Linked DNA regions of Homo sapiens: region 1 is linked to region 2. The links are contacts of gene promoters, found by promoter capture Hi-C in blood cells and fetal thymus (Javierre and others, 2016). All regions are on one chromosome and are shown on one strand. The core of a region is centred on a gene start or on the middle of the fragment in contact, and the rest is flanking DNA. Distances in the headings are between cores, read along the strand shown.

The links. Contacts are between HindIII fragments. The CHiCAGO score rates a contact against its expected background, and 5 or more counts as called.
Region 1: a contact is called between the fragment with the promoter of FHOD1 here and the fragment with the promoter of CDH16 in region 2, in 7 of 17 cell types (neutrophils, non-activated CD4 T cells, naive CD8 T cells and 4 more). The highest score is 7.6, in neutrophils.

What each region holds. Positions count from the first base shown.
Region 1 is chr16:67,245,147-67,249,599 of GRCh38, reverse strand. FHOD1 (formin homology 2 domain containing 1) reads left to right here and starts at 2,119. Exons shown (of 22, transcript NM_013241.3): 1 at 2,119-2,390. The coding sequence starts at 2,190. SLC9A5 (solute carrier family 9 member A5) reads right to left here and starts at 621. Exons shown (of 16, transcript NM_004594.3): 1 at 399-621. The coding sequence starts at 585. RefSeq lists enhancers at 1-382, 383-884, 3,285-3,944 and silencers at 560-669, 970-1,059, 1,080-1,169, 1,812-2,181, 3,082-3,181. The HindIII fragment of the contact is 13,502 bases long and covers 1-4,453 here.
Region 2 is chr16:66,916,094-66,920,767 of GRCh38, reverse strand. It overlaps CDH16 (cadherin 16), which reads left to right and starts at 1,883. Exons shown (of 18, transcript NM_004062.4): 1 at 1,883-1,964; 2 at 2,690-2,747; 3 at 3,043-3,126; 4 at 4,339-4,494; 5 at 4,565-4,674. The coding sequence starts at 2,703. The HindIII fragment of the contact is 16,817 bases long and covers 1-4,118 here.

The DNA.
Region 1 (4,453 bases), core at 870-3,369, 330 kb before region 2:
GGAGAACACCCTCCCCTCAATGTCCCCACACATCCTCACCAGCGACAGAGGTTTCTGGGAGGCTAGGGATTGGTGGGGGAGAGACCAGACTGAAGAGGGCCTACTGCAAGGGGAAGAGGGGAGCGGAGAGGGCAAAGGAGCCTACAGATGGAGTTGGGGAGAGCGGGGGACAGCCCTTCAGAAAGGCAAATCCTCAGAGCTCCCAGGGGAGAAGACAGGGACCTGGGACCCACAAGAAGCGATGCAGGAACTGGGCGAGAGCCCGGATTTGTGGAATCCAAACCTAAGTCCCAGCACCGTGCAAGAAGCCAGCCCCAATCTGAGGACCGAGGAGGTGGGGGTGTTGGGGGCGGGTCCGCCGCTGGCGGTCGGCCTGGCGCACGCACACACGCACTCACCGATTTTGGCCAGACTGGCCACCAGGATCCACAGGGCCACCAGGTAGGGCGCCTCCACCTCGTGCCACTGCCAGCGGAAGAGCTCTAAGCCTGGGGGAGGCTCGCCCGGGGACTCTGGCTTCTGGGTGGGCTCTTCGGCCGCCCCCGCCAGGGGCAGCGCGAGCAGGGACAGGGCGGCGCGCAGCATCCTGCCGCCTGCCCAGCCGCCCTCCCGGCACCGCACGGCCGCCGGCCCCGCGTCGCCGCCGCCACCTACCGGGCGCCCCCGCGTCACAGGCACGTGGGGCCCGCTCCCCCCAATCCCGGCTCCGATACCCCCAAGCCAGGTCCAGGCTCCGAGACCCTGCCTCGGACTCTCGTAGTCGGGGACTCTCTCCTCTTTCCTCCCTAAATCAGTCCCAGCTCCGGAAATTCCCCAGTGCAGCTCTCCCCCAAGTTCCACAACCTACTCCTTCGAGTCCGCGCCCCCAAACCTCCCCAAAACCGCCCCCACCAGATCCAGAGCGGTGCGCGGCCACGGCCCCCCTGGGGCAGCCCGCAGCGGGAAGGGCGGGGGTCTGCGGGGGGCGCGGTCAGGACGGGAGGGGCACGGCTCCTCCTCGGCCAGCGCTGCTGTGCGGCGAGCAGCACCCCCCTGGGACCAAGGCGCGGCCGGGTGCAAAACGCAGGGGACCGTGCTTGGCCGCCCTCCGCCCACGTTGCCAAGCCCAGGACCCCCTGCCGGCCCCCACCCGGACCTGAGCTGCGCACGCGCACTGGACGCTCCCCAAAGCAGTGACGGACAACGCTGCCCCCAACGTCCCAGAAACCCTAAGGCCCAGACTGGCCCAGCTCGTGCCAGGCGAAGAGGGAGGCTGTTCTTCATCTCCCAAACCAAGGGGCACCTGGCCCTCCCTTTCAGTCACACTACAGAGAACTGTCTCATCTCTTTGATGAAGCTGACAGGAACCTATGGAAAACCCAGCCTACTGATTCCCTTCAAACTAGGCGAGATGCACCCAACTTTTTCCAAATCTGAGGGGCATTCGGCTCATAGCGCCCCAAACAGAGGAGGACCGTCTCCACTTTTCATTCAGGCTGAGGGGCACCCATCCCACTTTTTCTCCAAAACTGAGGGGAACGTGTTCTATCTGCCCCCTCAAACTGACTCCTCCCAATCTTTTCCCAGAAAACTGAAGGGCATCCTTCCCTCTTCCTCCCACAACTAAAGGGAACTGATCCCACCTCTTCCTTCAAACTGGGTGGAATTTATTCTCACTTCTTGCTCCAAATTGAAGGGACCCCCTCTCACTGCTTTCCCTAAATGAGGAAACCACAGGGACTCACCCCTCAAATGGAAGGAATGAGGGCTATCTTGTCCCTCAACTGAGAGAGACCTGGCCGGCCACTATCTAAAGAAACTTCTGCCCCATCTGCCCTAACACCCCTCAAAGAGAACGCAGCCTCACTATCCCCAGACCAAAGAAAGCCTCCCCGCCTTCTGCGCGTTCTCGAAGGTGGGGCGCGAGCTCGGTTTTTCCCGCCCTCCTAGCCAGTGAACTAACGGGATTCCCATTGGGCCCTGTGAGTGGCTAGCGGCGGCCCCGCCTCCGGCAGTGGTTACCTCCTGGCGCGCACTCGGGGACTAATCTTGGCTCCACCCCCTTCCTCGGCCCCGCCTCCGTCTGGCCCCGCCCCTCCAGCCGCGTCCGGTCCGGCCGGGCCCGAACCGCGGAGCTACAGTGTGCTTTGAGTAGAAGCTGCACTGGGGCCGGGACTCGGAGGCGCGCTGCGTGAGCCGGCCGCAGAGCCATGGCGGGCGGGGAAGACCGCGGGGACGGAGAGCCGGTATCAGTGGTGACCGTGAGGGTGCAGTACCTGGAAGACACCGACCCCTTCGCATGTGCCAACTTTCCGGAGCCGCGCCGGGCCCCCACCTGCAGCCTGGACGGGGCGCTGCCCTTGGGCGCGCAGATACCCGCGGTGCACCGCCTGCTGGGAGCGCCGCTCAAGGTGAGGGAGGCCGGAGAAAGGTTGGGGCGATCGGGGGTTCAGGGTGGGCGCCATGAAAACTGGTGGGAGGTGCTCCGCGGGAAGAGGCTGGAGCGAGTGTTCTTCTCCGGAAAAGTCTTGGGCTGGGGTCCCAGGGTCCACTCTGCCCCGCCTGCGGGGGAGTCCCCTCTCAAGTTGAGGGGAAACTGAAGAGGGGTGCCAGGAACTTGGCTCCGCCATTCTGACTGCCCTTCGAATTAGGCGCACCTGGGGAGGTGCTCGAGTTCCACTCGCCGTCGGTCTGCCAGGGTGGCTTCCCTGGTCAGAGTGACGGTAGCCGCTTGGGCTGTAGCGGACCCTGGAGGCGGAGCTGGGGAGGGACCAGCTTCCACCTGCTTCAGGTGAGGTGGGGGCGGGACCACGAGGAGGGGCGGGCCCGAGGCGGACTACTAGAGGTGGCAGAGGTTTCCTGCGGTGTCAGGAAGCTGGATTGGGGCTTGACCCTGTAGGTCAATGGGAGTATGGGAGTGCCGGCCGAGGAGAGACTTCACGGGGTGAGGGGAGTCCCCGCGAAGCGGTCTGGCCCGGGATCCGCAGAGCGCAGGAGGCTGCACGGGTGTAAAAGCCCTTTGAGTCACCGCTCCCGCCCCCACCCCCGGACACTCGCCGCCCATCGGCCCGCGCCTGAAAGTGAGAGGGAGGGCCGGACTAATTTTAAACAGCCGGCCTGCCCTACTTTGCTGCCGCCCCGAAGCGGACTTGTGCACAGTGCGGAAAGAGGCCCTTTTCCAGATGGCCAGCCTACCTCCTCTCCCCTCCCTCTCGCCGCCGTCAGCCCCCCGCAGGCAGCCCTTTCCGGCGCGCTGTTTCCGGGCCAGGACTCTGGGAGGCGCACTACCACCTCCACAAGCTCCCCACCAGCCCGGCCGCCTCCAGTGCTGGAGAAGAGGAGAGAGAGTCGGGGTGGGTGCCCTCCCCTGCTCCCAGCCTCAGCTGGGCGGCGAGTTGCGTAAACTTGCCCCTTGGGCCTGGGGTCTTCCCTGGAATGTGCCCCGGGCCCCCAGCCCGCATTCCTCGCGCTGCGGCCAGCCCCGCCTCTGAGCGCTGGCGGGAGGGGTGGTGAGACTATTGGCCTGGAGAGTGGCACGTGTCCAGGCCAGAACCCCGGCTTCAAGGCCATGGCTGGAAGGATGCAGGACACTGCTCACCGCCAGTTTTGACTCAGCCCCCGCTTCTCTTGCCCTATTCAGAGGGGCAAATTGAGGTGTGCCTGGAAGAAGCGTGTGCAGCTGGAGGCCACCTCCCATTCAGGATGGGGGCTGGGAAGACAGGAGTGCTGAACTAAGACTGGTTCCCGCTTCCAGGCTCCTAAAGTCCGGATCCTGAAATAAGGGTGGGGCACTAGAGAATATATTGTATTCCTCTCATCCTGCAACTCAAGGATTGGACCTAGCCCTGACACCACCCCCCCGATTTTTTTTTTTTTAAGACGGATTCTGGCTCTGTCTCCCAGGCTGGAGTACAGTGGGGCTATCTTGGCTCACTGCAACCTCCACCTCCCGGGTTCTAGCAATTCTCGTGCCTCAGCCTTCCAAATAGCTGGGATTACAGGTGTGCGCCACCATACTCAGGTAATTTTTGTATTTTTAGTAGGGACAGGGTTTCTCCGTGTTGGCCAGCCTGGTCTCAAACTCCTGACCTCAGGTGATCTGCCTGCCTAAGCCTCCCAAAGTGCTGGGATTAAGGCTTGAGCCACCATGCCCAGCCCCTTGACACACCTCTTCCCAGCTGGGGGCAAGCCTGGGAAGTCAGCTGCAAGAAAGAGGCTCAGAACCACTCCTTCTATCTCCCTCTCATGGGACCCGTGTCCCCACCCAACCCTACCAGGTGCTCTGCCCTGTGTTCCCTGCTCCTTAGCTGAGGACACTACTGAGCTCCGGTGAAGAATATAAGTTCCTCATCCCCAATGCAGTCCTTCCTGGTCTCCCCGATTTCATGTTCTCCCACCTGGAGTACCTGAGGACTGCCTTCCCTCCCCCACAGGGATATGGAGGTGGCACACTAGGTTACCACAATGCCAGAAG
Region 2 (4,674 bases), core at 634-3,133:
AGAAGGTTCTGGGCCAAGGTCCATACATTCCTTCCTTAGTTCAATTTATTCAATTTATTCATTCCCTCACCCTCGGCACAAGTGCTGCTAAGAGTTTTTATCTACATGGTCTCAGGAAAAACCATCCCCATCTGGTGCTGGGTGGGAAGTGGCTGAGTGGGGACTGGTATACAGGTCTGCCCATCTCCAAAGCCTGGAGGCAGCCTGGGGCAAGGTGGGGGGCAGTTTCTAAGAAGGTTCTGGGCCAAGGTCCATACATTCCTTCCTTAGTTCAATTTATTCAATTTATTCATTCCACAGACTCCAGGGAGCCCTGGCAACCTGGTTAGAATCCTGATTGCAGCTTATTGAATGGCAGGAGGAGGCTTGAGGGCTGCCCCTCCATGTACAGGGGAGCGCTGAGATTCACCCACGTGCTCCCCAGGGCAGAGGTAACTGCTCAGAGCTGTTGCTGCTCTGCCCCTCCTCCCCACATACTTCAAGGAATGCAGAAGGCATGGTATTTTCAGATCAAGTGAGGGTCCCCAGGCCTTCCTGGCTCTGTCACTTATTGACTGTGTGACCCTAGGCAAACCACTCAGCTTCTCTGTGCCCCAGCATGTGCCCAATGCCCCTTCAGAACGCAGTATGTGGCATAATGAAGGTATGTGCTCAGAGCAGTGCTGGGCACAGAGCAGGAGCTTAACACGTGTGAAACCCCCTTCAACCTCCCCACACTACACTGCTCCAGGCTGGGTGCCAGAGTGACCCTGAAGCAGGCACTCAGCTTGTGACAAGGCTGGGGGCAGCTGGGGGTAGCTTCTGGCCTGAGAGAGACTAATCAGATGTACAGTGGGAAGGACTTCGTGGGGACCATGGGAAGCTCCAAGGCTGGAGAGGGACTGGAGACCTTCTTCCCACCCTCTCCCCTCATTCCAGACTCCCAGGCCCCAGAAGCATCTCCTGGCTCTGCTTGGCTGCCCTCATTGCGGGGAGAGCCCCTGTTCAGCCCTGCAACTCCCTCAAGGTCACCTGAGCCAGTTTAATCTTCTTAGGGGCATGAGACTGCCCACTGTCTCAGCCCTGTCACTGTTGAGTGGCCAGTGTAAGGACTTCGGGAGCTCATAGGCTGCTGCACTCCCCCACCACAGGTCCCCCTGGGGGGGGTGGTCTGGAGCCCCAATACCCACTTCCACTCATGTACTGCTCACCCATCCTTTGCAACCTCCAGCTCCTTGTCTTAGTTCCACAAGCCATGCGGAGCTGCCAGGGCAGAATGAGAGCCAGGTCATTCCTGAGTCCCTGAGTTCTGCTCTCAAAGGGCTCCCAATCTAATGGAAGAGGCAGACAATGACAAGCTGGTGTCCTCTGTGTATTAATAGAGATAGCACATGGCATGGTGTGAGGGGGAGGGGCATTCCCAGAGGAGGCTCCTGAACAAGCCTGGGAACATAGGGGAAGTTTCCTGGAAAAAGGAATATTTGAGCTGAGCACTGAAGCATGCATGAGCAGGTGCTTACCACACAGATGAATGAGTGGGAAGGGTGTTCCATGCAAAAGGAACAGAGTGTGAAAAGGTGTGGCTGCAGACACTGGAGCCTGGGAGATAAGTCAGACCAAGTCTGGAGCCACAGAAAAAGTAACGTCCAGAACCAGAGGGCCAAGGAATACCTCCTGGGCTGTGCTGGGGTCGAGGGAGTGCCAGGCCAACCATCTCCCCACCTCCTGGAGCTGGCAGTCACGGATGCTGAGCAGCTCCTGGCTTTCCAAAGTCAATGAGTAACTTGGGGGGCTGGGCGGGGCCAGGCCTGCTGCTGTGGGCCCAGTGGCCTTTTCCACTCCTGAGCAAGCGTGGCTGAACCCTCCTACCTGCTCAAGTGCCCTGCCTTGCCCCACCCAGCCCAGCCTGGCCAGAGCCCCCTGGAGAAGGAGCTCTCTTCTTGCTTGGCAGCTGGACCAAGGGAGCCAGTCTTGGGCGCTGGAGGGTGAGGGGCTGGGAGTGGAGGGGAGGGCATGGCTGAGGCTGAGGTTGGTGGTGGGGAAAGGAGAAACACTGCCCTGTCCTCGCCATCTGGGAAAGAATTCCCAGGGCCTCATCTTAGAGGGGTTGTCGATTTGTCGCTGCTCTGCCTGCCCAGCTCCATGACAAGGGCTGGAAAATGATGAGACAAGGGCCGGGCTCCTGCTCCGGGGGTTCTCCTTGTCTAGAAGGTGGCAGTGGGAGGCAGGACAGTCCCAGAGGCCCTGAGCTAGGAGGACTCCTCCTGTGGTCAAGTCCTCTGTGACCTTGGCCAGACCCCAGCATTCAGGCCTTGCCTGCAACAAGAGGTGACTTCAGGAAGTGACCCTCCAAGTCTTCAGGAACTTTCCAGCTTCAAACTTTTGTGATTTGGGGGATTGCTAGAAAATTACCACTTTGGGATCTGCGGCCTGGGGAGGCTATGGTGAGAAGGAGCTGGAGGTCTGGAGGTGAAATTCTGATAGAGTGCTTGATGGACCAAGAGCCTAGAAGCAGGGTGGCTGGGCCTGGGGGCCTTGGTGGGCCTGGCCGAGGAGCAGGGCACTACCCTGCAGGAGATGGAGAGCCTCAGCTCCTTTGGAGGGGAGGAAGAGAAGACTAGTCTGCAGTACGATCCCACTAGTTGTGTGTGTGGGATGGAAAGCCCCTCCCTACCCACCTGGGCTGGATCCTCACTGCCGTGTCCCTCAGGCCTGTCCTGACCATGGTCCCTGCCTGGCTGTGGCTGCTTTGTGTCTCCGTCCCCCAGGTGAGCTAGGCCCTGCCCCCTCTCCTTCAGGTCTTGGCTTTGGGGGTTGACACCCTTGCCCCCAACTCCACCTGGACCAATTGCACTGACCGTGAGAACGGTGCAAGGCATGGGAGGGGTCAGAGCTGGGACTATAGAGCCACTGTGGGATGAGGAGGTCAAAGACCAGAGCGCGGGTGGATGGACTAAGGTACAGCCAGGCCCTGGGAAGGGGCGGAAATTCCGCTCTTCTGTTGGGTCTCAGTGCCCACGCAGGAAGATAGAGCCTGGTGACAAGGTGAGAATCCTCCCACAGGCTCTCCCCAAGGCCCAGCCTGCAGAGCTGTCTGTGGAAGTTCCAGAAAACTATGGTGGAAATTTCCCTTTATACCTGACCAAGGTGAGCCGGAGAGCTGGGGTTGGGGCCGGGGGGATCCCTCCCCGCAAAGTCCTGCTTCTCCTTCCTCTGGCACCCTTCCTCTTGCTGTTTCTCTTTGAAATCCTGCTTTCCAGAGAGTATGTACACGTTACACAGGTTGAGTGTCCCCTATCTGAAATGCTTGGGACCAGAAGTGTTTCAGATTTTGGATTTTTTTTTTTCTTCAGATTTTGGAATATTTGCATATATATCATGAGATATCTTGGGGAATGGAACCCAAATCTAGATAGGAAATTCATTTATGTTTCATATACATCTTATACACATAGCCTGAAGGTAACGTTATACATTTTTTTTTCTTTTGAGACGAAGTTTCGCTCTTGTCGCCCAGGCTGGAGTGCAGTAGCATGTTCTCAGCTCACTGCAACTTCCACGTCCTGGGTTCAAGAGATTCTCCTGCCTCAGCCTCCTGAGTAGCTGGGACTACAGGCATGCACCACCACTCCTGGCTAATTTTTTTTTTTTTTTTTTGTATTTTTAGTAGAGACAGGGTTTCGCCATGTTGGCCAGGCTGGTCTTGAACACCTCACCTCAGGTGAGCCGCCCGTCTTGGGCTCCCAAAGTGCTGGGATTACCACTTTGGGATTTGCGAGCTGGGGAGGCTATGGCCAGAAGGAGCTGACAGTACAGAGGTGAAATTCCGACAGAATCCTTGAGTGGCCAAGAGCCCAGTGTGAGTCTGCTCCTGGGCGAATATTTTTAATGATTTTGTGCATGAAACAAAGTTCTGACTATGTGTTGACTGTGACCTGTCACATGAGGTCAGATGCGGCATTCTGTACTTGTCACATCATATTGGCGCTCAAAAAGTTTCAGATTTTGAGTATTTCAGATTTCAGATTTTCGGGTTAGAGATGCTCAACCTGCAGTGGGAATGACTAACAGATTTTAATCCTAGTGGAGAGCAGAGCTTTAGATTAAAGAACGAAATCTCGGTGGTGAGGTTTCAAGCTTCAGAAAGAAGGGCAGAGAGTTTTGGGGAGCATCAGGTCCAGGGAAAAGAGTTCTGGCTCTGAGTCTCAGTCCTGATGCTTACTGGCTGTGTGACCTCTGACAGGAGCCAGATGTCTCTGAGACTCAGTTTCCCCACATGTAAAATGAGGCCATCAGGTGGAGGAGGGGCATCTCCCAGGCCTGGCCACCGCTCCCTTCACTTCTGTTCATTTCCATCAGTTGCCGCTGCCCCGTGAGGGGGCTGAAGGCCAGATCGTGCTGTCAGGGGACTCAGGCAAGGCAACTGAGGGCCCATTTGCTATGGATCCAGATTCTGGCTTCCTGCTGGTGACCAGGGCCCTGGACCGAGAGGAGCAGGCAGAGTACCAGCTACAGGTATGGCTGGGCCAGGTGTAGGGGAGAGCAGGCAAGGCAGAGCCAGACGCTGACTCCCCTTCCCTGCCAGGTCACCCTGGAGATGCAGGATGGACATGTCTTGTGGGGTCCACAGCCTGTGCTTGTGCACGTGAAGGATGAGAATGACCAGGTGCCCCATTTCTCTCAAGCCATCTACAG